Regions from separate parts of the Homo sapiens genome. Here regions 1, 2, 3, 4, 5 and 7 are each linked to region 6. The links are contacts of gene promoters, found by promoter capture Hi-C in human tissues and cell types (Jung and others, 2019). All regions are on one chromosome and are shown on one strand. Each heading gives the region's core, a stretch centred on a gene start or on the middle of the fragment in contact. The rest is flanking DNA. Distances are from core to core; before and after follow the strand shown. Region 1 overlaps LOC105379080 (a long non-coding RNA gene). Region 2 overlaps MCTP1 (multiple C2 and transmembrane domain containing 1). Region 3 overlaps LOC105379080 (a long non-coding RNA gene). Region 4 overlaps SLF1 (SMC5/6 complex localization factor 1). Region 5 has its middle 430 kb from the start of LINC02058. Region 6 holds the start of NR2F1 (nuclear receptor subfamily 2 group F member 1). Region 7 has its middle 400 kb from the start of LINC02058.

What was found. Contacts are between HindIII fragments. The study calls those that stand out against the background at their distance.
Region 1: a fragment that was not itself captured here is called in contact with the fragment with the promoter of NR2F1 in region 6 in 1 of the 25 tissues and cell types used here (bladder).
Region 2: a fragment that was not itself captured here is called in contact with the fragment with the promoter of NR2F1 in region 6 in 1 of the 25 tissues and cell types used here (H1 embryonic stem cells).
Region 3: a fragment that was not itself captured here is called in contact with the fragment with the promoter of NR2F1 in region 6 in 1 of the 25 tissues and cell types used here (dorsolateral prefrontal cortex).
Region 4: a fragment that was not itself captured here is called in contact with the fragment with the promoter of NR2F1 in region 6 in 1 of the 25 tissues and cell types used here (spleen).
Region 5: a contact is called between a fragment that was not itself captured here and the fragment with the promoter of NR2F1 in region 6, in 1 of the 25 tissues and cell types used here (lymphoblastoid cells).
Region 7: a fragment that was not itself captured here is called in contact with the fragment with the promoter of NR2F1 in region 6 in 1 of the 25 tissues and cell types used here (IMR-90 fibroblasts).

Annotation. Positions count from the first base shown.
Region 1 is chr5:92,476,902-92,480,623 of GRCh38, reverse strand. All of the region lies in intron 3 of LOC105379080 (a long non-coding RNA gene), which reads right to left. Among named protein-coding and RNA genes, the nearest start is that of LINC02058, 460 kb to the left of the region's middle. The HindIII fragment of the contact is 9,659 bases long and covers 1-3,722 here.
Region 2 is chr5:94,908,456-94,912,190 of GRCh38, reverse strand. It overlaps MCTP1 (multiple C2 and transmembrane domain containing 1), which reads left to right. Exons shown (of 23, transcript NM_024717.7): 10 at 2,810-2,940. Among named protein-coding and RNA genes, the nearest start is that of MCTP1-AS1, 68 kb to the left of the region's middle. The HindIII fragment of the contact is 6,734 bases long and covers 1-3,735 here.
Region 3 is chr5:92,451,352-92,455,186 of GRCh38, reverse strand. All of the region lies in intron 3 of LOC105379080 (a long non-coding RNA gene), which reads right to left. Among named protein-coding and RNA genes, the nearest start is that of LINC02058, 490 kb to the left of the region's middle. The HindIII fragment of the contact is 3,748 bases long and covers 5-3,752 here.
Region 4 is chr5:94,649,843-94,653,984 of GRCh38, reverse strand. It overlaps SLF1 (SMC5/6 complex localization factor 1), which reads right to left. Exons shown (of 21, transcript NM_032290.4): 7 at 2,140-2,283; 8 at 564-713. Among named protein-coding and RNA genes, the nearest start is that of SLF1, 33 kb to the right of the region's middle. The HindIII fragment of the contact is 5,285 bases long and covers 143-4,142 here.
Region 5 is chr5:92,503,833-92,507,965 of GRCh38, reverse strand. No RefSeq gene overlaps it. Among named protein-coding and RNA genes, the nearest start is that of LINC02058, 430 kb to the left of the region's middle. The HindIII fragment of the contact is 5,640 bases long and covers 1-4,133 here.
Region 6 is chr5:93,581,354-93,585,255 of GRCh38, reverse strand. It overlaps NR2F1 (nuclear receptor subfamily 2 group F member 1), which reads right to left and starts at 2,034. Exons shown (of 3, transcript NM_005654.6): 1 at 1-2,034. The coding sequence starts at 232. It also overlaps a transcript of NR2F1-AS1 not described here. RefSeq lists silencers at 905-984, 3,592-3,641 and an enhancer at 3,762-3,861. The HindIII fragment of the contact is 15,492 bases long and covers 1-3,902 here.
Region 7 is chr5:92,536,841-92,540,845 of GRCh38, reverse strand. No RefSeq gene overlaps it. Among named protein-coding and RNA genes, the nearest start is that of LINC02058, 400 kb to the left of the region's middle. The HindIII fragment of the contact is 8,533 bases long and covers 1-4,005 here.

The DNA.
Region 1 (3,722 bases), core at 258-2,757, 1.1 Mb after region 6:
ACTTAGTCCTGGTTTATAATTCTTTTAGCATGCTTTTGAAATTGAATTGCTAGTATTTTATTGAGAATTTTTGTGTCTATATTAATAAGGATTTTTTTTTGGTAAATTTTTTTCTTCTGTTGTCTTTATGTGGTTTTAGTATCAGGGTAATGCTGGCCTCACAGAATGAGTTAGGAAGTGTTTTCTCCTCTTCCATTTACTGGAAGAGTTTGAGAAGAATTGCTATTAATTCTTCTTTAAATGCTAGATATAACGTACCAGAGAAGTTATCTGGTCCTGGGCTTTTCTTTGTTGAGAGTTTTTTGATTACTGATTCAATCACTTTGCTCGTTCTAGATCTGTTAAGATTTCCTGCTTTTTCTTGAGTTAGTTTAGGTAATTTGTGTATTCCTAGGAATCTGTGTATTTTATCTTGGTTACCTAACTTTTTGGCATATAGTTGTTCATAGTATTCTATTATAACTCCTTTTGTTTCTCTAAGATCAGTAGTAATGTCACCACTTTCATTTCTGATTTTAGTTATTATCATCTTCTATCTGGTTTTGTTGGTCTAGTTAGATGTTTGTCAGTATTTTGTACCTTTTCAAAAAAATATCTTTTGATTTCACTGCTATTTTGTGATCAAAGAAAATACTTTCCATGAGTTTAGTGTTTTTAAATTTATTAAGATTCATTTTGTGGTCTAATGTATTGTCATTTCTGGAGAGTGTTACATGTACACTTGAGGAAAAATCATGCCCTACTATTGCTAGTTGGAGTACTGTATATGTGTCTGCTATGTCTTGTTGGTTTATCATGTTGTTCAAGTACTCTATTTTCTTATTGATTTCCTGTCTACAGTTTTCCATTATTAAGAGTGATGTATTCAAGTCTCCAAATATTAGTGTAGACTGTCTGTTTCAGTCTTCGATTCTATTAATTTTTGTTTCATTTATTTTGAGGTCTTGTTTGGTACATATGTTTGCAGCTTTTGTATCTTTTTGATGAATTGACTTTTTTATCAGTATATGTATTTTACCCTTACGCAACAGAGGTTTGAACTGCACAGATACACTTACACATTTTTTTTTGCCTCTGTCACAACTGAGACAGCAAGATCAACCCCTCCTCTTTCTTCTCTTCAGCCTACCCAATGTGAAGACAGTGAGGATGAAGACATTTATGATGATCCACTTCAACTTAATGAAGAGCAAATATATTTTCTCCTTCTTATGAGTTTCTTATAACATTCTTTTCTCTAGCATACTGTATTGTAAGAAAGCAACATAGAATAAGTTAACATATAAAGTAAGTGTTACCAACAGTAGGCTGTAGTAGTTTAATTACTGGGGAGTCAAAAGTTATATTTAAATTTACAACTGTATAAGGATTAATTCCTCCATCTCCAGTGTTGTTTGAGGGCCAATTATAATGTCCTTCTTTGTTTCCTGTAACAGGTTTTACGTTAAAATATATCTTGTCTGATTTTAATATAGTCACTCAAACTCTCTTATGGCTACCATTTGCATCCAACATTTTTTTCCATCCTTTTGGTTTCAACCTGTTTGTGTCTTGGATTGAAAGTGAGTTGCTTGTGGACATCATATAGTTCAATCATATTTAAAAACTTCATGCTGTCAATCTCTGCTTTTTGACTGGACAGTTTAATCCATGTACATTTAATTTAATTTAATTACTAATAAAGACTTACTTAGCTGAAGTCAGGGAAAGAAAACAAAATTACAAAAACAAATAAGCAAATAATTTAACTGGTAGATGAAGATCAGAATCTGTTTTCTAAAAATAAATTTGAGCAAATCAGTTTCTACAATATGTGTGAATACATTTAATATTCCAATTTTTAAAAATTGAACTTCTCAGATGAGATATAAAATACACAATAAACAGCAATCATGTTGGTTTCCCATTACTGCTATAATGAATTACCACAAACATAGTGTCTTAAGACAATACAAATTTATTAGCTTATAATCCTACAGGTCATAAGGCTAACACGAGTCGCATGGCTCATCATACAGCCTTGTTTCTTTTGGAGGCTCCAGAGGTGAAGTTATTTTCTTGCCTTTTCTGGCTTATAGAGGCTTTCAATATTCCTTGGCTTATGGCCCATTCATTCATCTCAAAAGTCAAAAATGGTGAGTTAAGTCCTTCTCATGTTGCATCTCTCTGATCCTTCTTCTACCACTCTATACCACTCTCTGGCCACAGCCAGGAAAGTTTCTCTGCTTTTAAGAAATTGTGTGTTTAACTTGGACCTAACCTGATAATACATATTAATCATCCTATCTCAAGATCCATAATCTCAACCGTATATTGTTTTGCCAGGTATGGTAGTACATTCATAGGTTTTGGAGATTAGAATATAGAAATATTTGGAGCCATTATTCTGCCTACAACAGTCATATGCTGTATATGAGAGGGTAACTAAAATATATTGACAGAAAATTTGAAGGTAAAGGAATAAAAAAACTCATAGTGTCCCAATACTGGCCAAAATAATATTGGTGTCGATATGACATTATTAGATAAAATATTCTTTCATCTTAAAGCATTATTAAGGAAAAACATATATTTTCTTCATTTGATTGAGGGTACAGTTTAAATAGAAGTCAGTTTCCTCTGCTCACCTGCCTGAGAATGTCCAAGGCCTTACTTCCCATTTTTATATAAATATAAAAGCTCAAATACAAGTCATTGGTGCCATTTTAAGGACCTTATGCTTTTCTGATCAAATTAAAGCTTTACTACACTAGTTTCACTGCTTGGCCTACACATTTGGCCTAAGGAATGCCTAGTTATTGAGATTGTTTTGTTTCTAAAGTGATTTAGGTGTCATTTGCACTGTAATATCAAAATCCTTCAGCATAGGGCCTAGAGAATGCCAATTGCAAATGCGATCAGTGCTACCTCAGAAGGTCATACAACGCAAGGTGAAAAATCTGGGATTTGTTTCAAAACACTAGTTTCATTTAGTAAAGTAATCTTGTGAAAGTTAGTTAATTTCTTTGGAAACTCGCCTTATTTTTCAGTATGGTTAAAATTTGTAATGCAAATCAAGTAACCATCATCAATATTAAAGATGTTAAAGGAAGAGACTATAATGTTAATAATACATGAGATATATCACCTAGTATGGGAATATATGTGGCGCATATTTTAATGGTTAAGAGCATGGCGTCTGGAGCTAGACAGCCTGACTTTTAATCCTTATTCTTCTCCTTAAGCAGTGTGACCTTGGGTAAGTTACTTAACTCTTCTAAACCTCAGTTCCAAACCTATAAAGTGGAGTTAATAGAACATAACTCATAGGATTCTTATAACAATAAGGTATGTTACTATTTGCACAGCACTACTTGCAAAATAAGTACAATATAAATCAATACACTTTTGTACTTTGATCAAAATGCCAGGCAAACAATAAGTCTTTTTTGAGTCCAGTACCTATTACTGCTAAGAACTGTGCTGGCTAAAGTGAATTTTATATATATATATATATATGATATTTCATATAAAACGTGTCCTGAAAATGACATATATACTTTAAGTAGATTAGAAATATTCAGTTTATGCACTGTATAGCCCTAGATAAAATAGAATTCATAAATTTAGAGATTAGCTTAAATTTTATTATTTTATAAGGAGAGAACAATTTAACAGTATGTGGGGTCAGGGGGATGCCAAAGGAAGGATAGATCACTGTAATAAATCTATGGTACATTCCT
Region 2 (3,735 bases), core at 280-2,779, 1.3 Mb before region 6:
CCTCCCAAGAGTGTAGCTTTTAACATTATTACAACTAGTGCTAATATCAGTATTATAAATAGCATTATTTTACATGCCATAAAAATCTTTGTATGTTACTCTTATACACTTTATCCAACCTGACTTGTACCAATGCAAATAGCAAATTTTAAAATTTATTAGAACAAGTTACTTTGTCTCTCCATATCTTAGTTTTCCCATCTGTAAAAATGAGAGTTAAAATAATGCCTACCTAACAAATTTACTAAGATTAAATGAATATATGTTACGCATTTAAAGGGCTTAGAATACTGCCTTGTCCATAATCACTCAGCAAACAAAAATAGCAGAAGAGGAAGAGTAACAACAGTAGTAAGAAGTATATCGTATAGTATCAATTATAGTAGTAGTAATAATGTATTAAACAATAATATTAGTAATATAAGTAATAATGAATAAGGGTCTAGTAGTCATAACTATATTTTTGGCACATGTCTTATGTATTAGTTCATTCTCACACTTCTATAAAGAACTACCTCAGACTGGGTAACTTATGAAGAAAAGAGGTTTAACTGACTCCCAGTTCTGCAAGCTGTACAGGAAGCATGGCTGGGAGGCCTCAGGAAACTTACAATCATGGCAGAAGGCAAAGTGGAATCAAGCATGTCTTTCTATGGCAGAGCGAGAGAGAGTGAAAAGGGAAGTGCCACACACTTTTAAACAACCAGATGTTGTGAGAATGCATTCACTATCATAAGAACAGCAAGGGGGATGTCCGCCCCCATGATTCAATCATCTCCCACTAGGCCCCTCCTCCAACATGTGGGGAGTACAATATGACATGAGATTTCGGTGGATACACAGAGCCAAACCATATCATCTTATCTCTGTTGTAATGAACTATGTCCTCTTTATTGGTCAGTTTTTACAGATGTTATTCATAGACAGCTTAGGACAACTGATCATATCCGTCTTGTATTAAAGATCACATTCCATTCTGATGGGCATTTATTCACCTTAGTGTCATAATCTCTATAGATTTTTGATAAACAGCCTGCTTAGGTCCCTTCCAGCCCAGGAAGTTTTCACTAGTACTTAAGGTAGTTAAAAATATCAGAGAGCCCATCATTAGCAGGCAGTGAGTATTGCTAGCAGGCTGATTGGAGTGTCCACATAGAAAGGGAAGGCATTATTTCTGACCTGAAGGAAATAATATAGGGAAGGCAATCCTAGAAAAGAAAACTGAAAATTTAGTCTGTTTAAGGCCAGATAAGTAAAGACAGACCACACCCCAAAATACCACAGAAGTTCATCTGAGCCTGATTATAAGACATTTAAATTATCATAGCCTTCATTCAGTGCCATTTTTTTTCTGCCATGGGGCTTATATTAAAGTAGCTATAATATATAACATATATTAAAGTAGCTACTGATTCCAAAAATAGGTACCTATGACCACTTCTATCTTCTCCTTTCTTAGTTAGCACCATTTCCGTGTTCTAGTTAGGCTAAAAACATTACTTATTTTTATAGTTCTGCTCTTTAGGTATGAAATATGAAACCCAGCAATGGACATGTGTCTCTCTTTGCTCTTTCTTTCCTTGATCTATCGCTGATTAATTTCAGATTATGAACTTTAAAAATTGTGATTCATTTGCATTACCTTTGCATATAACATACTTCATTGCTTTCAAACTTTACATCTGAAGATCTGTCTGCCATACATTAAAAAGAGAAAAGGCCACTGCATGCCTTCCTGCTAAAAAGAAAGAACAAGGAAACAAATATAAATGTTGTTTAACCCAATGGTGAATGGAATTTTAAAATTCCATTCCTATCAATATAGGTTACTTTGCTCATTGATTCTACCATACAGGATGACTTATCTGAATACTTGAAGTTACAGAATTACATTTCAGATATCTTTCTTGTATATGCAACACAAAGAGTATATCCACATATGTGTATATATACATACATACATATATGTATACACATATATGTATATATACATATATGTATGCACACATACATATATGTATACATGCATATACATATGTATATACTCATACATATATACATGTATACATACATATATACTCATATATTCATTTATTATTTCACAGACATTTTTGGCATATGGTTTTGGGGGAAGAGTCCCGAAGCTTTAATCAAAGACTTTGAGTTAGTGTCTAGATACTAAAACATACTGACCGTAGGTGTGTCACTTAAACTCTAGGTCTCAGCTTATCCATCTATAACATGAGATACTACATCAGTGCTATAAGTCTAAGATAAAAGTTTGCCTGACTACCCAAAAGCTACTTGCGTTTTTCTCCTGCTCTCACAGAAATTCATTGTCTGTTTTTCATGTACTCAAGTCAGGATTCCAATGTGTATGGCAAGTAAGAAAAAAACAAACTCTGAAAATCCTCATTCTCCTTTATTTTGAGATGACTGACTGGCTATGAGTTATATCTTAATGCATTAACTATGATTATGTAAAATATTGCTAGTATCCGAGTGAGCTATTTCTTTCATAGATTATTACCTCTTCTATATAATTTATATATCTTATCTGTTATTTAAAATAATCAAAGAATGTCTTGTGATTTTCAGGACACATCCATTGAGGTCCATTCATGTACTATTCAGTAAAGATGCTGGAGATCTAATGAGTTATTTCCATTATTTCTGTAATCTTTTTTTCAAATAGCACACAGCGTGCTTTTCTAGATACTATAGTACCAAAAGTTTGATTTAGTGTCTCAGGTTGAAGTTTTTTTTAAAAAGCTGCTAGCAATATGACAATTATGATTTTTTTTTCCAGATTATGCCAAAAACGTTGAATCCTCAGTGGAGGGAACAATTTGATTTTCACCTTTATGAAGAAAGAGGAGGAGTCATTGATATCACTGCATGGGACAAAGATGCTGGGAAAAGGGATGATTTCATTGGCAGGTTTGTGCAATTTGTAATTTTTGGTTCACTCCTAGAGCATTTTTATTAAAAGAATATTTGCTGTAAGCCTGGTTATTGTAAATGATCTTTACTGTTTTGAAGAAAGGGACTTTACCATGGTAAGGCAATGCTTGGATGAACTGAAAAATAGATTCAAAAACTGACCAGTAGGTGGCGGTTTTGACCAGTTGATGGACACAGGCTATCTGAATTTGATATCCATGAATTTTCTCCAGATGTCAAAGTTATGGGAGTTGAGAAAGAGGAATTTCATCTGATATAAGATACATAAAGGAACAAAGACCATATTCATAGTCTGTAAAGTGATCTAAGATAATATTTATTTTCATAAAGCATACTATCACCGTAAAATGCATTATTTTCTACAACGCCCTACAAGGTAGAGAATGCTTGTAATCTCCTTGGAGTTCATAAATCTGTAAAGAGTTCCCAAGTATTAGTGTAGGAAGCATGTAAGTGAGGCAGATCCATGTTAATCTGATAGCACAGTAAAGAAAGGAGTATTCTGAGGCTTACATGACATTTTTCACAAAGTTAAGGTTATTTTGAGTGACTACTTGAATCATATGTTTTCTTAATTTAAAGCCTATGTTTATATTTTTTGATAGTTATATATGTGTCTTTGTAGCAAAACACATTGAAACCTGCCAATATTGAAATAAAGTGTGGTGTACTGAAGAATTTGTTAATTTTTTAAATTAAAAAAAAATTCTTTCCTCACTGTAGCTTACATGAAATTCCAAGTCTTTAAACATACAGCTTGAAGAAAATTTA
Region 3 (3,835 bases), core at 629-3,128, 1.1 Mb after region 6:
GCAATTGCTGGTACAGGAAAATCCACACCAAACAAATCTGACAAAGAAAAGTAAAACCCATCAAAGCAAAACCCAGACGCCACATAAAGATACTCTGAAAATAAATTTAAAAAAAGCTCTTTGCCAGGTGAAACACATCAGTTAAGGCAGGTCAAGAAGCAGAGGAAAAGCAAAACAGAAAACTAAGGTTGAAATTAAGGAAAATTAAACAAAAAATTGCAAATGTGACATAACCAGGTGAATCAGAAATTTTAAAAGTGAAAGCAAATGAACAAAGTGAAATGATATAAAATGTAACTAACTGATCTAAAAGAATATCTCAGAATGTAGCTCAGAAATGACAGAATTATTAGTTACCTACAAAAGAATAATACAAATGAAAATACAGTGAGAAATACACAGAGAATAAATGAGAAACCACAAGAAAATAAAATAGTAGCACTAATAATAATAATACTACTAAACAGAATCAGTGAGAAGGTAATAGATGTAGAAGATAGCAAAGAAGATCCAGCATAAGATTTGTTGTATCTGAAGCAGAAAAACAACCAATGGAACCAAATTAATATTTCAAATTAGAGTTAAAACATGTATTAAATAAGAATACAATATGAAGATTCAAATTTTCCCACTATGTACCTGAGAATATTAAAATAATTTTTTTTTTTTTGAGACAGGGTCTTCCTTTGTCATCCAGGCTGAAATGCAGTGGCAGGTGCATAGCTCAATTGAGGGATTGAGGCTGCAGTGAGCCATGAGCCTGCCACTGCACTCCAGCCTGGGTGGCACATCAGCCTCCCAAAGTGCTGGGATTATAAGTGTGAGCCGCCGCGTTTGGTGACTGAAACAGAATTTTTTACTCTGAGACATGTCATTACTAAGCTTTCATCCCTTCCTTCAGGATAAAGACTAAATCACTTATTTTACATTCCAATTGCTCACTGCTGATATATACAATAGCAATTTAATTACGTATATTAACCTTGTATCCTGTGATCTTGCTATACTCACTTATTAGTTACAAGAGGGATTTTTGGGTCAATTCTTTGGAATTTTCTACATATACATGATGTCATCTATGAATAAAGACTGTTTCATTCTTTATTCCTAATCTTTAAAATGTTTATTTCCTTTACTTATCTATCTTACTAGCTAAGACTTCCTATACAATATTGCTTAAAGGTGATGAGAGATAACATCCCTGTATTTCTCCCAGTCCTGGAAAGAAAGTGTCCTGTGTGGCAACCAGGAGGCACAGTTGAACAGTTGATATGGGGTTAAATTGAGATATACTGAAAGTAGAAAATACATACCAAATTTCAAAGACTTGGTATGAAAAAAAGAAAATAAAAAATATCATGTATAACTTTTTATAACGATTACACGTTGAAATTATATATTAACATAATTTTAGTTGTTAGTTTTTAATGTAGGCTAGTTAACACTTAACATTATATATGTATAACATTATATAATGGCCAGGCACAGTGGTTCATACCTGTAATTCTGGCACTTTGGGAGGCCGAGGTGGGCGGATCACTTGAGACTAGGAGTCTGAGACCAGCCTGGGCAACATGGGAAAACCCCATCTCTACTAAAATTACAAAAATTAGCTGGATGTGGTGGTGCATGCCTGTGGTCCCAGCTACTCGGGAGGCTGGGGCAGGAGGATCACTTGAGCCCAGGAGTTCAAGGCTGCAGTGAGCTGTGATTACACCACCCCACTCCAGTCTGGGCAAAAGAGCAAGACCCTGTCTCAAAGAGAAAAGAAAAGAAAAGGAAATCAAACCAAAAACATAGAGATGTGGCTCTCATTTTATTTTTAGTGGTCAGTGCTGCATCCTACTTCCTGGAAAGTTGATGTGATAGCTCATTTTGGCCTATGAGGACAAAAGTCATATCTTAAGCTTGGATGAACGATGAGCTAGAAGGACATTTGTGCTAACACTTTGAGGAATGGTGCCTTACTGGACTTGCATGAATAAAACTAAAATTCAATTCTATTTGTGTCACATTTATTTTCAACTTTCTGTCATAGAAATATCTCATTTTTATAATTGTGTGTGAATGAATGTATGTGTATATAGGTAGGTAAGTAAAATATATTCACCAAAATCCCATGTTGGTGAAGTGAGCTTTCCTTTTGGGTATTCATGCTTTTTAAAAAAATATGAGCATCAATTCATTTGTTAAAAATGAAGGTCTGAATAGCAATACAAAATCTTAAAAGTTTTGTAAATAACCTCAAAACAATGGGCTCTCCAATTTATTTTAAAACTGAGAACTGTTTAATTACCCGTGATTTAAATGTCATCCTTGACAAACTGAGAGCAGTGTTGATAGCAGGATGGAATGAAATAACAGAACTGTGAAGGTATTTTCGGTATTTATTATAATTCTGACTCAGTTTTCGTTGAACGGATTCCTTTTTAAAAGATTCGAAATCACTTAAAACACTATAATGCTATTTTAACAGTGTTTTCTTAAAGTAGTCTGATAGACAGAAGAGGTCACTATCAAAACTCTACACTGAAACTCATAATGTTAAAAATAAAGGATCTATTATATTTTTTTTCTTAGGGAGAAAAGCCTCTAAAAAGTCACATCAGTATTAATAAAATGTCTAGCATTCAAAAGCCATGCTATATTGAACAATTAATGGGTGTTTATAAAATTTCATGTTTGGAGAAAGTTTGCTTTTTCTGCATGGTAAAATTTATGACCAGATATGTTCAGCACTATAATAAACCTGCTTTAAAATTCCTGCAGAAAATTGACATTCAACCATGTTCTAACAGTTCAGATACTGGCAAGGTCTACAAAGATGCCACTGAAAAATATATATAGTGCATAATTTTCATTTCTTTGCTGTCAGGGTAACATGTGTGCTTCATATGCTTTAGTGAAGTCTAGCAGTACAAATGTGTCAAAAAATCATAAAAATTTGTCTTCTATGACTAACATATAGGATTTAGGACCCTAGTCTTTTGGATATTTATCTCTAAGTAGGAAAAGAAGAATTTATTCTTGGACAAACATATATACTTTATGTTTAACACATTTTCCCTGTGGGATTTAATGAAACAACTTTAGCAGAAGTCACCATGCTCCTTGTCGAGTTTCTTCCCCCATTGCTGTAATAGCCTAAAAAATAGCATAGGACTTTATGTTCAAGGATTTCAAAAATGGTATCCAACAAAAATAAAAAAGGTATTAATTAAACTTATGACCCAGGAAAGGAAATTATCTTCTACTAAATTTGCTTTATAACTCTATTAAGTTGTTTGCCATAGAAGATAAATAAGATGAATTATTGTATTAGTCTGAATTCTTTTACTGCAAGTGGCAGAAACCAAACCCCATTTAGTTGAAGTAAAAATTTAGTAACTCCCATAAATGGGAAGTTGCAGATGGAGGTTGGTATGAGATAGAGCAGATAGGACAAGAGTTCTGTCATTTATTCCTGTGGTTGCTCTGCTTATTTTTTCTTGTCTGTGCTGGACTTTATTTTTCCGGCTCATTTTCTCCACATGGTAGGCAAAATGACCATGGCCATGAAGTGCCACCAGCCTCGAAAGTCCAGTAGAAAGAGTCTATAACTAATAAAATATATGGTCTCATTTGTTCGCTGAAATATGAAGGAATCTGCTATCTCGGTTTGTGATGTTTTAGAGCATGATACCTCTGCAATTAGGCCTTTGCTCTAAAACTGTGATGGAAAAAACAGCAAAGCTCTAATGCCACAGCTTACAGGACAGACTTTCTCAGGAAAAATAGGCAATGTTTTTCAGTTCTTCCCTCTTGGTCTAATGAGCTTCTGCTGAGGCTCATACTT
Region 4 (4,142 bases), core at 1,536-4,035, 1.1 Mb before region 6:
TTGCCCAGTCTGGTCTCCAACTGCAGAGCTCAAGCAATCTGCCCCGTTGGCCTCCCAGAGTGCTGGGATTACAGGTGTGAGCCACCGCATCCAGCCCATGGTATGGTTTAGATCGTTAAAAAAAAAAAAAGTCATACTCCAGAAAAAATTTACCCAAGAAGCATTCAATTTTAAAAACAAGACATCTCATTAAAAATGGTCTGTACTATACAAAAGAGCAAAATAAAATTTACATTAGAAAGTATTACCCAACTATACACACATGTAGTTTTAAAGATTTTTTCATTTTAAGAAATAGTCTTTTCCAGTTTCTTTTTCTTATTCATCACATTCAGGCAAAACAAAATTCACTGAATACCTTGATTATTAACTCAGATTTCTTTGTATATGCATGTACAAGTACATTTACTGTGAACCAAAGTTAACTGGAATATTAACTATGAATATTACACCAGATTGACTCAAGATTTTTTCTTAAAACATGTAGCATTATATATCTAGATTATATCAGAGAACAGCCAAAAAATAAAAAAGAAAGCTATAGCTTAGCTTACAAACTTTACCTGATCTCTATTATATATGTGCCTTCTTAAGGTACTTTTTATTTTTTCATGTTCAACGCCTTTCTTGCAATTGCTTTCTTTTCCTTTCTTGCGTTTTCTCCTCAAAGTATAACTCCTCTGAATATCTTCATCTTTTTTCTTAATTTCCTTCTACATGTATTTAGACCACAATTAAATCTCAACATCAATGACATATGTTACAAAATCCAAATAAACTCAAGAGTGACTTTCATACTTTCATACACATTAAAAAATAAAGAAGTACGGCCGGGCGCGGTGGCTCATGCCTGTAATCTCTGCACTTTGGGAGGCCAAGGCGGGCGGATCACCTGAGGTCGGGAGTTAGAGACCAGCCTGACCAACATGGAGAAATCCCATTTCCACTAAAAATACAAAATTAGCCAGGCGTGGTGGCACATGCCTGTAATCCCAGCTACTTGGGAGGCTGAGGCAGGTGAATCGCTTGAACCTGGAAGGCGGAGGTTGTGGCGAGCTGAGATTGCGCCATTGCACTCCAGCCTGAGCAACTAGAGTGAAACTCCATCTCAAAAAATAGAAATAAAAATAAAGAAGTACGTACAACAGAAAATCTCATCCATTGACAGAGTAGGTGTACATTAGTAAAATATTTTGAAAAAAGTCGGACACTGCCTAGTATAGTTGAACATGCACACTCCTTATGACCCAGCAACTCCATTCCTAGGAATATACCAACTAAGCTAGAGAAATTACTAAATATGTATCCCAAGAGGTATACAAGATAATGTTCATATTATTCATAGCAGAATTGTTCATAATTGCAAAAACTTAACAATCAAACACATAAACCAATAAAAAGAAGCCCAAAGGCTTATCAACAGTAAAATGGATAAAAGATATAATTGTGGCATAGTCAAACAATAAAATTTTATATACATTAGCAAAAGAAGTCTATAAATAACATAAACTATAAAATGTTCATGAATAGACAAAGCTAAACCATATCAGTTAGAGATACACACACAGCTGTTAAAACTATAATGAAAAATAAGAAAATAATTAACACAAATTCTAAGACAAAGATTACTTCTAGGTAAGAGGGAGAAAGGGGATGCATTAGAAAATGATATAGCAGGCTGGGCGCAGTGGCTCACGCCTGTAATCCAAGTACTTTGGGAGGCGGAGGTGGGCAGATTACAAGGTCAAGAGATCAAGACCATCCTGGCCAACATGGTGAAACCCAGTCTCTACTGAAAAAATTACAAAAATTAGCCAGGCGTGGTGGTGTGTGCCTGTAGTCCCAGCTACTTGGGAGGCTGAGGCAGGAGAATTGCTTGAACCCAGGAGGCAGAGGTTGCAGTGAGCTAAGATTGTGCCAGTGCATTCCAGCCTGGTAACAGAGCAAGACTCCATCTCAAAAAAAAAAAAGAAAAAAGAAAATAATACAGCAGGTCTTAAAAACTGGTAATGCTCTATTTCTTAATCTAGCTATTGGATACATAACTCATTTTTATATATTTTTTAAAAGCTAAAGAAAACTGTTCTATAAACACTATATATATTAAAAATAAATTATTTTTAATTTGGAAAGTTGTACCTGATTTTCATATGTATGGCTTCCAAAGGTATTTCTCATTTTAACAAATTTCAAATCTTTACTGGAACCACTGAATTTTTCTTTTTTGTGATGTTGAATCAAAATAGAACCAACATTAACATCTTCATGATTTTGCATTTCTTTCTGCGTGTTTGTAAACATAATTTAGTTAAGACTGTGGATTAAATATAGCCTTAACACAATCAACACAAGTCACAAAAGAAAAACCCATCCAGGAACATAGATTTTGTAAAATATACATACAAGGTTAAATAGAGTAAAGAACCCTCTGAATTATGTAAGATAAAGCAGAACATAATTGTTTTCAGTTCACAAAGCTTTATAGTACGTTAACATATATGCTTTAGTTTACCTATGTGCTGAATTCCGATTAATGAGTATTACAAATCATGTTGTTTAATCATTATACCAAAATAGCTATTTTTAAAAAAGGATATTTCTACTTGAATTTTACATACATAATTTGAGTCCTAAAAAGAACTCAAGAAGACATATATACAGTCATGCACTGCTTAACGATGGGGATATGTTTTGAGAAGTACATCGTTAGTTGATTTCGTCATTGTGCGAACATCAGAGTCTACCTACACAAACCTAGATGGTATAGTCTACTACACACCTAGTCTATATGGTATGGTCTATCGCTCCTAAGTTACAAATCTTTATGACATGTTACAGTATTAAATGCTATAGGCAACTGCAACACAATGCTGAGTATTAGTGTATCTAAACATAGAAAGGATACAGTAAAAATATGGTATTATTATCTTATGGGACTATAAGATACTATCATATATGGGGTCCGTTGTTGACCAAAACATCATTATGTGTACATGACTGTAGATGTATTTTAATGATTTCCATTTATCTTACAAAATTTCTATTTTATTCTTTTGCCATGTTTATTCAAAACTAAATTATTTTAATAACTCCATCTTCATTCTACATTCCTTTCTATATGTAAAAATGCTATACACTGTGGTTTACAATGTATATTTCACAAGAGGCACATCAACTCAAAAAAGCTTCTCATTAAAACATGCACATATAGTAAATTACAAAAAGTAGTCTTCTAAGTCACATAAATATAAATATACACTGGAAAAGTCAGAAAAAAATGCAAAAATATTTTAAGTTTGGAAAGTTCTAGCAAATCTTGCCATATACAATTTCTTAAGGAACTATGTAATCCCAGCACTTTGGGAGGCCGAGGCGGGCGGATCACGAGGTCAGGAGATGGAGACCATCCTGGTTAACATGGTGAAACCCCGTCTCTACTAAGAAAATACAAAAAATTAGCCAGGCGCAATGGCGGGCTCCTGTAGTCCCAGCTACTCGGGAGGCTGAGGCAGGAGAATGGCGTGAACCCAGGAGGCAGAGCTTGCAGTGAGCCGAGATAGTGCCACTGCAGTCCAGCCTGGGCGAAACAGCAAGACTCTGTCTCAAAAAAAAAAAAAAAAAATGTTCCAAATTATTCCTAGAATTACCTTTCAAAAATACTTGACAGATATGGTAAAAACAATTTATTTTGAATTTCTTCTTAGTTATACATAAAACTTTTAGTTTAGACTAATAATTATCAACTTAATAATTTGATAAATTAACCAAATAGACTGCTTTATAAAACACAATATGAAAGTGAACATAACTGAACATTAGCTCTTCTAGAGCAGAACTAATAATGTCCTTTTTGTGGCTGCTACTGCTATTTGAAAAGTTGTACTTGACAGCCACCATACCATATGTGCTTTCTTGAGGTACTTTTTATTGCTCCAAGTTCAAAGTCCTTCCTGTTTTATTGTTTTACAAGTTAATCAAAATAGACTTCATTTGTGTATTTTTAAATTTTATTCTATATAAATACTTGAATTTACATGAATTATATATTGTGCTCTCAGGTAAGAAAAATGCTTTATAAGACACACGATGTTACCTAAACATAAGTAAGTTACCTAAACATGGTAATTACATAAGTAATTACC
Region 5 (4,133 bases), core at 929-3,428, 1.1 Mb after region 6:
TTTGTGTGCATAGAGGTGTTCATAGCATTCTCTGAGGAGTTTGTATTTCTGTGTGACTAGTTGTAATGTCATCTTTGTCATTTCTGATTGTACTCATTTAGATCTTCTTTTTAAAGATAGCTAGCAGTCTATCAATGTTGTTTATATTTCTGAAGAACAAACTATTTCATTGATTTTTTTTGGTATGGATTTTTGCATCTCAATTTTATTCAGTTATCTAATTTTAATTATTTCTTCATCTAGCTTTCAGGTTGGTTTTAAAACTCTTTTCTTTTTAAATTATCTGGCCTCAGATATTTCCTTATAGCAATGAAAAAATGGCATAACACAGATACTCTTCATTAGTTTTATAAATTTTTCTTTTATTTCAAGTTTCTTGAGGGTTTTAATCATGAACACATGCTGGATTGTGTCAAATGGAGTTTGCTCATTTATTGAGATGATTATGTGACTTTGTTTGTTTGCTTGTTTTTGAGACAGTATCTCACTTTTTCACCCAGGCTATAGTGCAGTAATATCATCATGGCTCACTGCAATCTCGACTTCTCCAGCTCAAACAATCCTCCCACCTCAGCCTCCCAAGCAGTTGGGACTACAGGCACGTGTCATTACACCCAGGTAAGTTTTTGTATGTTTTGTAGATATGGGGTTTCATCATGTTGCACAGGCTGGTCTCAAACTTCTTGTTTCAATCAATCTGTGTGCTTTGGCTTCCAAAAGTGCTAGGATTGCAGGCACAAGCCACTGTACCTGACTGATTTTTTATTTTATTCAAGTGATACAATGCATCCCATTAATATAGTTTCAGATTTTGAACCAACCTTGCTTTATCCTGGCCTAAATCCCACTTGATCCTGTTGTGTAATTTTTAAAATATGTTGTTGAAGTCAGTTTTCTAGTATTTTTAATTGTGGTAAAATATATATAACATAAATATTTACATTTTTACCTTTTGTAAGTGTTTGCTCTTTGCATAATATATATTTTCCATATTTTTATTTTAGGTCTATTCTCAATCAAAAGTCTGTCACCTTTAGATAGTATATAATTGAATTTTTTTTATCCAACTTGAAAAGCTCTGCCTCTTCATTACATTGTTTAATATTTTCACATTTAATGTTATAGATATAACTGGACTTATGCCAATTACTCTTTGTTTTCTATATGCTCCAGGGTCCTTTTTGTTCTTTTATTTCTCTTTTATAGCTTTCTTTTGCATTAAGTAAACATTCTTTAAGTAGCATTTAATTTTTTTAAATTTTTTTATGGTTTATATGCTTTTAGCACTTGCTCTAGGGTTTACCATATACATTGAAATTTATCCAAATTAGCTTTAGATTTATCTCAGTTTGATTCTAGTGAGATACAGAATTGTTACTCCTATACAGCTCTATTCCCTGCCTCACTTTTTGTAGTATCCTTTTTACACATATTGCACCTGTTAATGTTACAAACTTAACAATACATTATTTTAAGTATTATTTTACCTCTTTTGTAATTTTAGGCCATTAAAACTTTACTCCCTTCCACCTTATTTGTGCTGTTATTGACAAATATAGCACACATGTTATATTTCTATATGCAATAGGCTCAATGTTATGTTGCATTATATACATATCATTTTATACCACTGCTTTTAAAATCAGGTATGAGAAGAAAGGAGGAAAATATGCCACTTTTTAAATAATTACATGATTTTTCTACAATATTCTTTATTTTTTCAAGTTGGACTGAAAATTCCATCTGGTGTAACTTGCTTTCATACTGAAGAACTTCCTTAAGTATTTCATATATGGCTGGTCTGCTAGCAACACATTCTCTAAGATTTTGTTTATCTGTAAAGGTCTTTCTTTCACTTTCACTTTTTGAACAAAAGCTTTCCTGAATAGAGGAGTCCAGGTTGAAACTTTCTTTGAGCATTTTAAATATATCATCCCAATGTCTCTGGTTTCTGTTATTTCTGCCAATAAGTCAGGTGTGTTAATCTTTTTGGAGTTTTCTTGTAAGTGAAGGGACATATTTCCCTTGTTGCTTTCAAATGTAGTCCTTGTCAGAGAGTTTCATTCTTTTTAATATGATTTGTTCATGGGTTACTTTGTGTTTATACTACCTGGAGTTCACTGAGCTTCCTGGATGCCTAGGTTATTGTTTTTCAATAACTTCGAGTAGTTTCAGTAATTTTTTTGAATATTCTTTTTCTTCTGTCTCCTCTCCATGTACGCTTCGTACATGTATGTTTGTGTGATTAATAATGCCTCACATTTCTCTGAGGCTGTATTCATTTTTCTCCATGCTTTTTTTTCTTTTTCTTTTTCAAGTTCCATAATCTATATCCATTTATCTTTGTTTGCTAGTTTTTATTTTGCCTGTTCAATTCTCTGAGGAGCCCCCCAAGTAAATTTTGTATTTCGATTATTATACTTTTTAACTTTGGTATTTTCATTTAGTTCTTTTTATTAATTTCTACTTTTTTGTCGATTTTTTTATTTGGTATAACATTCCAACATACCTTCCTTTACTTCTTTAATTATTTCCACTAGTTTTTGTTTTTTACTGTTAAATATGACATCTGTGTATTATTCCAGGCAGTTTCTGTTTCCTGCTGTTTATCCCAGCGTATGAGTCATGTTTCTCCATTTCTTTGAAGGTTTCATAATTTTTTATTGAAATTGGTCCTTTTAGACACTATATTATAGCAACTCTGAGTACTGGTCCTCCTGTTCCAGTGTTTCTTTGCTTGTATGTTTAATGACTGGATGAATTGTTTTACTGAAGTCTACCCCGTCTCCTTAACTGTGGTAAACCTTTGATGCTGTGACTCAGGGAAGTATAGTTTTGGGCATGCCCACAGTTATCTTGGGATGTCAGTTGTATTGGTAGGGTGCTCTTCCACTCTTTTCTGACCACATCCAGCTATTAAACTCCACTAGTAGCACCTACTGATTGCTCTATTGTTTTCATCAATATCCCGAGGCTTAAATGCCTCCATTAATTCAATCAAACCAATCCAATCAAATTGTGGTCCCTTTGAGTGACTACTTTCTGAGGTTAGTGTTTCATATTTGTTCTGGCCCCAGGAGTGCTCCTCCCAGCTGTCTTATCCTTGGGTTATTTTCTGCAAATTACCACCTTACATTCCAGGCTATATCTTTATTAGATCCATGAATCTTCAAATTGCCTTTCACCACAATGTCCAATATTTTTTAGAGTAGCTTTAGGTTAAAACTTCTCCATACTTTGTTGCAAATAAAGTCAGTTAATTTGGGGACAGATTAGGAGCTATTGTTTTTTTGTTATGCTTCTCCCCCAGGCAAAATCTCTGAGCCCAAGCTCTGAAGCTAGGGGTGGAGACAAAGGCAAGCTTTTTTCTGAGTGACACATCAACTCTGGGAGCTGAGCACCTGGTGGAAGGGGAGGAAATAGTAATGATGTCGTCTTTGCTTGCATTTCCTAACTTGGAAACACATGCTTATGAACAGGAAGAAGAGCTGTCAGAACCCCATTATTCTTAGCATACTGCACCTGCTTAGAACCTACCTTTCATAAATGGTGGGTGGGCACTAGGAGGAAGTCCCCACCTGTGACCACACTCAGCCGCAACAATAGGCAGCTGAGGACAGAATGAAACTGAGAATCCTTTATCCTCCTAGGAAGAGAGCCCTATACTGGGAGCTGATGTTAGAGTAAGTCCTGTGTTCTAATCTGCAACAATCTTCATTCAAATACTGTGGACTGTTATCTCTCTCACTGAATTTTTGTAGATTTTTTTTCACTAGATATTTATTTGCTGTTGCCTTTAGGACTATTTCCAGAAGCTTCATACAATTGCATTGTCTGCATAATTTCCATCAGTTTTATTGAGAAGTGGGTCAGGAGAGCTCTCATGTTGTTAAACCAGAAGTCAGTCCGTTGTTGTTTTAAACTATTCAGTTTGGGGTAGTTTACAGAGACACTGTAGATATTTAACATGGGAAATAACACAATTGGAGGAATAACTTGGTGTCATATGAACAGTGGGGGAAAGTGAGATTACAGAGAGTGGGCAGGTTTTGAGATCCAAAACATAGTTGACAGATTGCGTTATAATATGTGGATGAATAACTATTTTTTCCAGGAACAAATATTGGAAAAAT
Region 6 (3,902 bases), core at 785-3,284:
CCGAACCGGGCGGGCCCTGGCCCTTGTCCCCCGCCGTGCCGGGGGTGGCGGGCGCTCCGGGCTGGCCCGGGGTCTGCGGCGTGTGCGGCGCGCCCGAGCCCGCCTGCTGCTGCTGCTCGCCGGCGCCGCCGCCGCCGCCGCGGGCCGCCTGCGCTGCGGGGTTGGGGCCGCCGGGGTTGCCCCCGGCCACGTCGTCCTGCGGATCTCGCCAGCTGCTAACTACCATTGCCATATCTTTGGGCCCGGGGAGCGCTGGGGGGAGCCGAGCTGCTCGCCGAGGGCCGCGGGGCGCGCGGGCGCGCTGGGAGGGGAAGGGGAAGGGGAAGGGGGGAGGGGGAGGGGGCGGGGGGCCCGCCGGGCGCCCCGGGGTCGCAGGAGCCGAGCCCGAGCCGGACACCGGCCGCTGCCTCCGCCGCCGCCGCCGCTGCCGCCGCTACTGCCTCGGCCGCCCCGCTGCTGCTGCGCGCCCGCCCGCCCTGCTGGCGTTTTGTTGTGGTTCCTGCTGTTTTCTTTCTCTCTTTTTGCAGCCCCCCCAGGCTCTCAGGCTCCCCCCCCAACACCCCTGCTCCCCTCGCCCGCTCCCCCCGCGCTCCGTTCCTGGGGGGGCCGCGCTCTCCTTCCCCCCTCCCCACCCCCCGGCGAGCAAGCTCCCTTCTCTCGCTTTTTTCTTCTTCCCCAAGTTGCAAAATCAGAAATGGCACAGGCGGCAGCCGGGAGCGGCGCGGGGCGCAGCGCCGGGGGCGGCGGGCATGGGCCACGGCGCGCGCACACACTCGCCCTCCGCCTCGCCCGCACCCCCGCGCACACACACACTCGCACACACAGTCGCTCACCCGCGCCGGGCGCCCGCCCGCCGGCCGCTCGGGCTACGCGCAGCGCGCGGGCTGAGCCGACATAGAGGAAGCCGGCGAGGGCGGAGGCGGCGGCGGCGGCGGAGGAGGAGGAGGTCGCGGCTGCAGGCGCCGCTGGAGCTGCCGCCGGAGCTGCTGCGGCGAGCGCCGCTGGAGGAGCCGGGACCCGGGCCGGAGTCCGAGCAGGAGTCGGGGCCGCAGCCGGAGCGCGAGCGGAGGCCGGGGCCGCCCGCGGCGCCGCCGCTGTCCCGGCGGGAGCCCTCGCCGGGCTCGGGAGTGCGGGGAGCGCGGTGAGCCGAGCAGGGCGCTGGGCGAGGCTGCCGCCGGCGATCAGGGCGCGCGGGTGTCGGGGGGCCAGGTCCAGGGCCGGACGCAGCCAGCCATTCAGGAAGGCAGCGCTGGAGAGCGGGAGGCAGCCGGCGAGGAAGATCACACACTTTGCTCTTTTTGTTGTGCCGGTGGCGCCGGGCTCTCGCTGCCTTCTTCTTTCGGGAGGTGACGGAAGGGGGAGAAAAATACGGGATAATTCACGCCGGCGACGAAATCACAGCGAAATAGAAAAAATAAAAATCAGAAGAAAATAATTGCCAAAAAAAGGAAAAAGGAAAAGCGAGAGAGACATCCAAAGTAGGTCGAATAAATAATCCTCTTCTTTTCCTCTTTCTTGCTCCTTCTTCTGCTTCTTCTGCTATAACACACAGAGCTAGTTAAAAAAACCCTGGAGATCGCCCAAAAATGTTCTTTTTTTAGTATTTTAAATAAGTGCTCTTCAGCCGGCAACCAACACCCTCCCTCCAAAAAAAATCATATATGTATAAAATAACGATAAGAAGAATACGAAGGGGGTGCCTCCTCCTCCTCCTCCTCCTTTTTTTTTTCTTTAAGTTTAGCCCTCTCTCTTCTGCAGGAATGGAGTAAAAGAGACAAGGAGGAGGGAGAAAAAGGAGAGAAAGGAGAAGAAGAAGGGGAAAACAACTAGTAGAATATGTAAGAAAAGAGAAAGAGAAGAGAGGTTCAGAGAAGAGAGGAGAGAGAGAGGAGAGGAGGGAGAGAGGGGGGAGAAAGAGGAGAGAGAGAGAGGAGAGAGAGAGAGAGAGAGAAGAGAAGAAGAGAGAGAGAGAGAGAGAGAGAGACCCAAAAATTGAATGCGTTTAAACGGGAGGACTCGCAGAGCAATGTTTCCGAAAGGGGGATCTGCGCGAATGTCTGTATATAGTGAACTTTGACACTACTATTGAAACTGACACGTTTCTATGGAGATCGCTGCCTTATATGGAGCTCGTGTCAAGGAGCCAAGAGAAGGGCTGCTGGCAACTGATAATCAAAGGCGACTGACTGGTCAGAGCCCTGAATCGGGGGGAGAGAAAATGGGAGGCTAAGGTTAGCCAAGCCTCCTGCACGCCATTGGTTGGAGAGCCCCTCCCCCCTCCTCTTTTGCTTTCTTTCTCCCCCCCCCGCTTAGCTACCTACAGACTGGGATGGTGTGGGGAGGAGGAGAGAAAGTGAGGGAGGGGGGTGTGTTTCTGACAAGCGCAATTTACATTGAGATCGCCCTGCGCTGCTATTTACTCTGAGACCTGATTAGTATGGGTCGTCTATGGTCACACACACACACACATACACACACACACACTTACGCTCACACCCCAGAGGGGGAAGGGATGACGAGGGGGAGAACGCCTAGCGATGGGCAAAAGGAGAATTAGAGGGAAATTATTTTGATTTCTTCTGAAAAGTTTTTAAAATTAGATTTTATGAGCGTGAAGAGAGTGTCATTGAAAATGTTTGGAAAAATTTTTAATGGGAATGAAACCCCCACCATTTTAATGATTTGTGAAATATACTGGATTTGGATTGTTTTCTTCTCTCACATATAAGCACAATCCAAGTCTGGATTCTGCTCATTTTATATCCTTTTTAGAAACAAGTAGAAACAGGGTAGGATCTCCCTATTTTTTAATCCAAAGTATACCTTGGTTTAAAAGGTTTAATGATGACAAAGCACACTCCTGGAATTTGCAGCTATTGCCACAAATTCGATCGGAATCAAGGGTTCCTATTTATCCCAAAGATGATTTTAAAAATAAACTTTCCAATCAATCCAATTTTTCCTTCTTCTTTTTTTTTTTTTTTATCACCTGGCTGTTCCAAACTCCAACAATGCTTCAATCATTATTAATAAAACAGTAGTAAGTCCCCATATTGTTGCAGGGTGGGGGGAGATTAGTGTGGCCAAGTCAGTCCCGGGAAAAGAGCAAACAAACGAGAAGATGGAGAGGGGGGGAGGCGGAGAGGGAGAGAGAAAAGGGGGAGGAGGAGAGAGAGAGACAGAGAGAGAGGAGAGGAAAGGAAAGAGAGGAGAGAGGAGAGCGCGCGAGATATTGAGAGAGAGAGAGAGAGAAGAGAGGAGAGGGGAGAGAGAGAGAGAGGAGAGAGAGAGAGACCCAGAGAGAGAGGAGAGAGAGAGAGACCCAGAGAGAGAGAGAGAGAGAGAGACCCAGAGAGAGAGAGAGAGACCGAGAGAGAGAGGAGAGAGGAGAGAGAGAGAGAGGAGAGAGAGAGAGAGAGGAGAGAGAGAGAGAGAGAGACGAGAGGGAGAGGGAGAGGGAGAGGGAGAGGGAGAGGGAGAGGGAGAGGGAGAGAGGAGAGGGAGAGGGAGAGGGAGAGGGGGAGAGAGAGAGAGAGAGAGAGAGAGAGAGAGAGAGAGAGAGAGAGAGAGAGAGAGAGAGAGAGAGACCGAGACCCCGATTCCTGAATCCTGAAGGTGATTGGTCGCGGGAGGAGGGGCAGGCGGGAGGAGCGGGTCCCGCGGCGGGGCTTGCAGGAATCGCTGGCTCCGGCTGCCACCTAGCGGACGGGAGCCGCTCCCGGGCGGCACACAGCCGAGTCCCTCCTCCCCTCCCCGCAGGCAGCCTGTGCCTTTTCTCCAAACGAAGACAGCACTTTGAAAATTCTTTCAATGGATTTTTTTTTCCTTGAAAGATCGTACTGGGGGAAAATGATACTTCTATTAGTTACATATTCTCCAATCGCATACTCGCACCCCCCTCG
Region 7 (4,005 bases), core at 438-2,937, 1.0 Mb after region 6:
GTTTTTATTTTCTGTTTAGCTATTTATTTGAGAAATGCAGAAACTGGTAAAGATAATTAGAAGAAAAATAATGTACTATTTTTGTGAAAATGTAGCTTAAAATGAAATTAAAGCACCATATTTGTGATTTGTAACAGAACATTGGATAACTTTCAAAATCACTCAATTCAAGAAGTAACATTCTAAACTGGATTTGAACTAATGACCTAGATATAAAGACTATGTGAGTCACTAATTGTAGCCCTTAGACACCAAGTCCACTAAGGATAAATAGTGTTAATTTATGTGATCTTTAGGACAAGAACACTTAGATAAGGCAATACATTTACCAGTTTAAATTGATACAATCAATTGATTGTATTGATTTTCCAACACATCACATACATTCATTGAAGCTCAGCATGTGTGAGTGTTATATCCACATACATGTATAGTGTATATAATTTTATAAATTCTAATAAATTTTATAAATATAGTCTTTTCAGAAAGAATATAAATTTATTTTTATTAATAAATAATAAATAGTCTACTGTCACAATAACCGTTTTAACAGGATTGTTTAGTTCGAAGCATAAGGTGACGTTAGTAAAGGGCTGGTTTTCTGTAAATATTGGATTTTAGGACTGAATGTGAATAGAATTTGTTGGTATCCAATGACAGTTACAATTATGAGGCATTGCTACAACATGTGGTATGTGAAGTTAGAAAACCTGGCTTTTTAAATACTTGTTAGTTAGAGCAAATCAATTCACTTTATTTAAGTTGCTTTGATGGTAACATTTTTATCAGTTTTAAGGCAGAGGGCTAGACAAAGGACTTTTGAAAGTATATTTCATTTCTAAGATACAAAAGCATATGGTTTCAAATGACATTTCAAAATTAAAATTTGTATCAATCAAGAATTTAACAAAACCAGTTCCAAATAAAATTATATTTGTTTACCATTTTTTCTGAAGTTTAATTTGTATGCTAAAATATATGATGATCAACATTTATTTTATTTTTGACTTCTTTTGTTTAAAGTAAAGGAAACTTTTGCTAGCAGACATTTTATAAAACCATGTACAAATACAGTTTTGAGAACTGGATCAAAACCGATGTCATTAAATTGAAAAATTATTGGTTATTTATGACAGTGCAGAACAGATGCAAAGAGTTAAAACAGGGCTAGAATAAGTGAACATTTCTCAGCCCAGGAAATTTTTAATATTAAAGTCCATTGAAAAAATGGTTTTAAAATGTTTTAAATGATTTAAGTGAAATTCATCCTAGTGGTATGCTGAACTGAGGAGAATATTTTATACAATTGTTGTGCATAGAACTCTAGCCAATAATTTTGAATGTGAACAAATGTTCAGTAAGAGAGAAATAATCCAAACAGTTAAAATAAGAAAAGGGAAAGTGAAGAAATTGATTTACAGATTCAGTTCCTTTCAATAATAGAAAAGTTCAGTTTCTTTCAGTGTCTCAAGAGGGTGGCATGGAGGAAAGGGATAGTAAAGAAGAATCAAGTTTGTATTCATTCTCTTTTGAATTGCATTTGATTTGTTACTATCAATATGAATTTCTTATAATTAATAAAAGGCATATGCTGAGTGATCCAAATGAAACAATGTTCATAATCTAGGGGATTATTCTCTAGGAGAGAGACAGAACTATATGTAAAGGAGATATCTACTATACACCTGGATCAGGATATTCCAGAATGGTTAATTTGATTCAATGAGGCCATTGCATTAGTCAGCTTTGACTGCCATAACAAAATACTGTAGGCTGGGTGGCTTAAACACCAGAAATTTGTTTCTCATAGATCTGGAGGCTGAAAAGTCCAAGATCAAGGTACCATCCAGTTTGGTTCCTGGTGAAGGCCCTCTTCTTGGCTTGCTGTATGCTTAAATGAATATACACACAGACACACACACACGCGCACACACACACAGAGCACTCTTTCTCTTCTTATAAGACCACTAAGCCTATTGAATTAAGATCCCATCCTTATGACTGCATTTAATTCCTCTTCTTATAAGACCGCTGAGCCTATTGAACTAGGATCCCACTCCTATGATTGCATTTAACCTTAATTACCTCCTAAAAGCCCTATATCCAAATATAGACACATTGGGGATTAGGGATGAAACATGAATGTGGGGAGGATACAACTTAGTTCATGAATGGAGATTCTCTTAGACATGAATGGAGATTTTCTTTAGCTTTAGCTTTGTTCTGAAAGTTGTGCACATAGGGCTTCCATCCTCATGGGTCTAATTAATGTTGTCAGAGAATATTCATAACCTAGGAGTTACTGCTTCTGCTGCTCAATGCTAAGGCAGCTGGGTACTTGATGAAGTTGGTGTGACATTCTCTACAGGTAAGAACCAATGTTGTAAATAATTAAAGTTTCTAATCCAGCAAGCATGATTTGGGTTACAGAAAAAAATAAAACACCTTGATTCAGAAATTCAAATACTAAGAAGAGAAAAAAAAATCCAAAACAACAACAACAAAACTGAAAGAAATAAAATATTATTAATGGACTCGGGAGAAAAAAAAACAGAAAAATAATATAGGAAATGAAAGCTAAATTACATGGGGCCCAAGGATGAAGAAATACAAACAAGAAGTTAGTAAGATGCTTAGAGGAAAAGAGGAGAAACAACAGATAGAATGACAATGAGATGAAGAATAAAGAAGGCACCAAAATGAAAGGAAGACCCTAAAGAAGAAAAAAAAAGTAACTAATTTAATATTTAAACCATAATCCAAGAAAACTTTCAGGGAATTAAAGATAGGACATTACATATTGAAAAGGCCCAGATATTTCCTGAGAACACAGTCACACAGTTATCAATTCTGGGCTACACTCTAGTACATTTTTTAGATTTTAAAGATGAAGTAGAAAATCCTCAGGGCCTCCATACAAAGAAGCAAATAATTTACAAGGACCAAAAATCAGACTGGCAGCACCATTCTATTCAAAAGCAGCATACAAATCAATATAAAAATGAATCAGCATTGAAACACAAATCAAAATAAGGATAAATCAGTATAGAGGAAGCAGAGGAGAAGGAGGAGGAAGAAGAGAAAGCAGAGGAGGAAGGGGAGAGTGGGAAGGAAAGAAACAAAAAATCAGTGTCAACTAAGAATTTTATTTTTATTCAAGCTGTCCCTCTATGAACAAGATTTTAGACAGACAATCATTTTTAAGCATGCATGAACTCAGGAAATATTGTTCCAAAGATTCATCGTGGGAAATTTGTGGGTGTGTGTGTCTGTATCTTAAAGTTAATTTATAATCTTTATTCAATCTTACTATAAACATCAAGTTTTTTTAGCTAGTCAGGATATTAAAATTCACATGGAAAATAAACTTGTAAGACTATCTAGGAAAACACTATCCAATTGAAGCTGTGAGACAGACTGTCTTACAATATATTAAAACATGCTATAAAGCCTCTATAATCAAAATTGTATAATTGTATAGCTCTGCCTTTGAATTCACTGATCCTATTTTCTTTGCCATATCTAATCTTCTGTTATGAAAAGCAAGTAAGTTTTCCCCTCCACTTCAGTTATTATACTTTTTAATTCATTCTAGAATTTTTAGTTTTTCTTTTATAGTTTTGATTTCTCAGAGGAGATTCCTTATTTATTCAGTCATTAATACCATATTTTTCTTTATATACTGTGTGTATATCTATGTATGTATGTATGTATCTATCTATCTATCGATCTATCGTAGCTCTGTGTGTGTGTGTGTGCGTGTGTGTATGAAATAGCTGCTTCGAAGTAATTATCTGTGAAATCTAGTATCTAAACTACCTTGGGTTACTTTCTGTTAAACTTTTTAACTAGAGGTTACATTTTCCTATTTACTTAGATGTTGAATACTTTCAGATTGTATGTTGAACCTTTGGGGTGATACGTGGGATGATGTCTTCAAAGAGTTTTGCTTTGTTGTTTGTTTTCTGATTGACATCTTGCACAGAGATCCAAATTAGTGTGGAT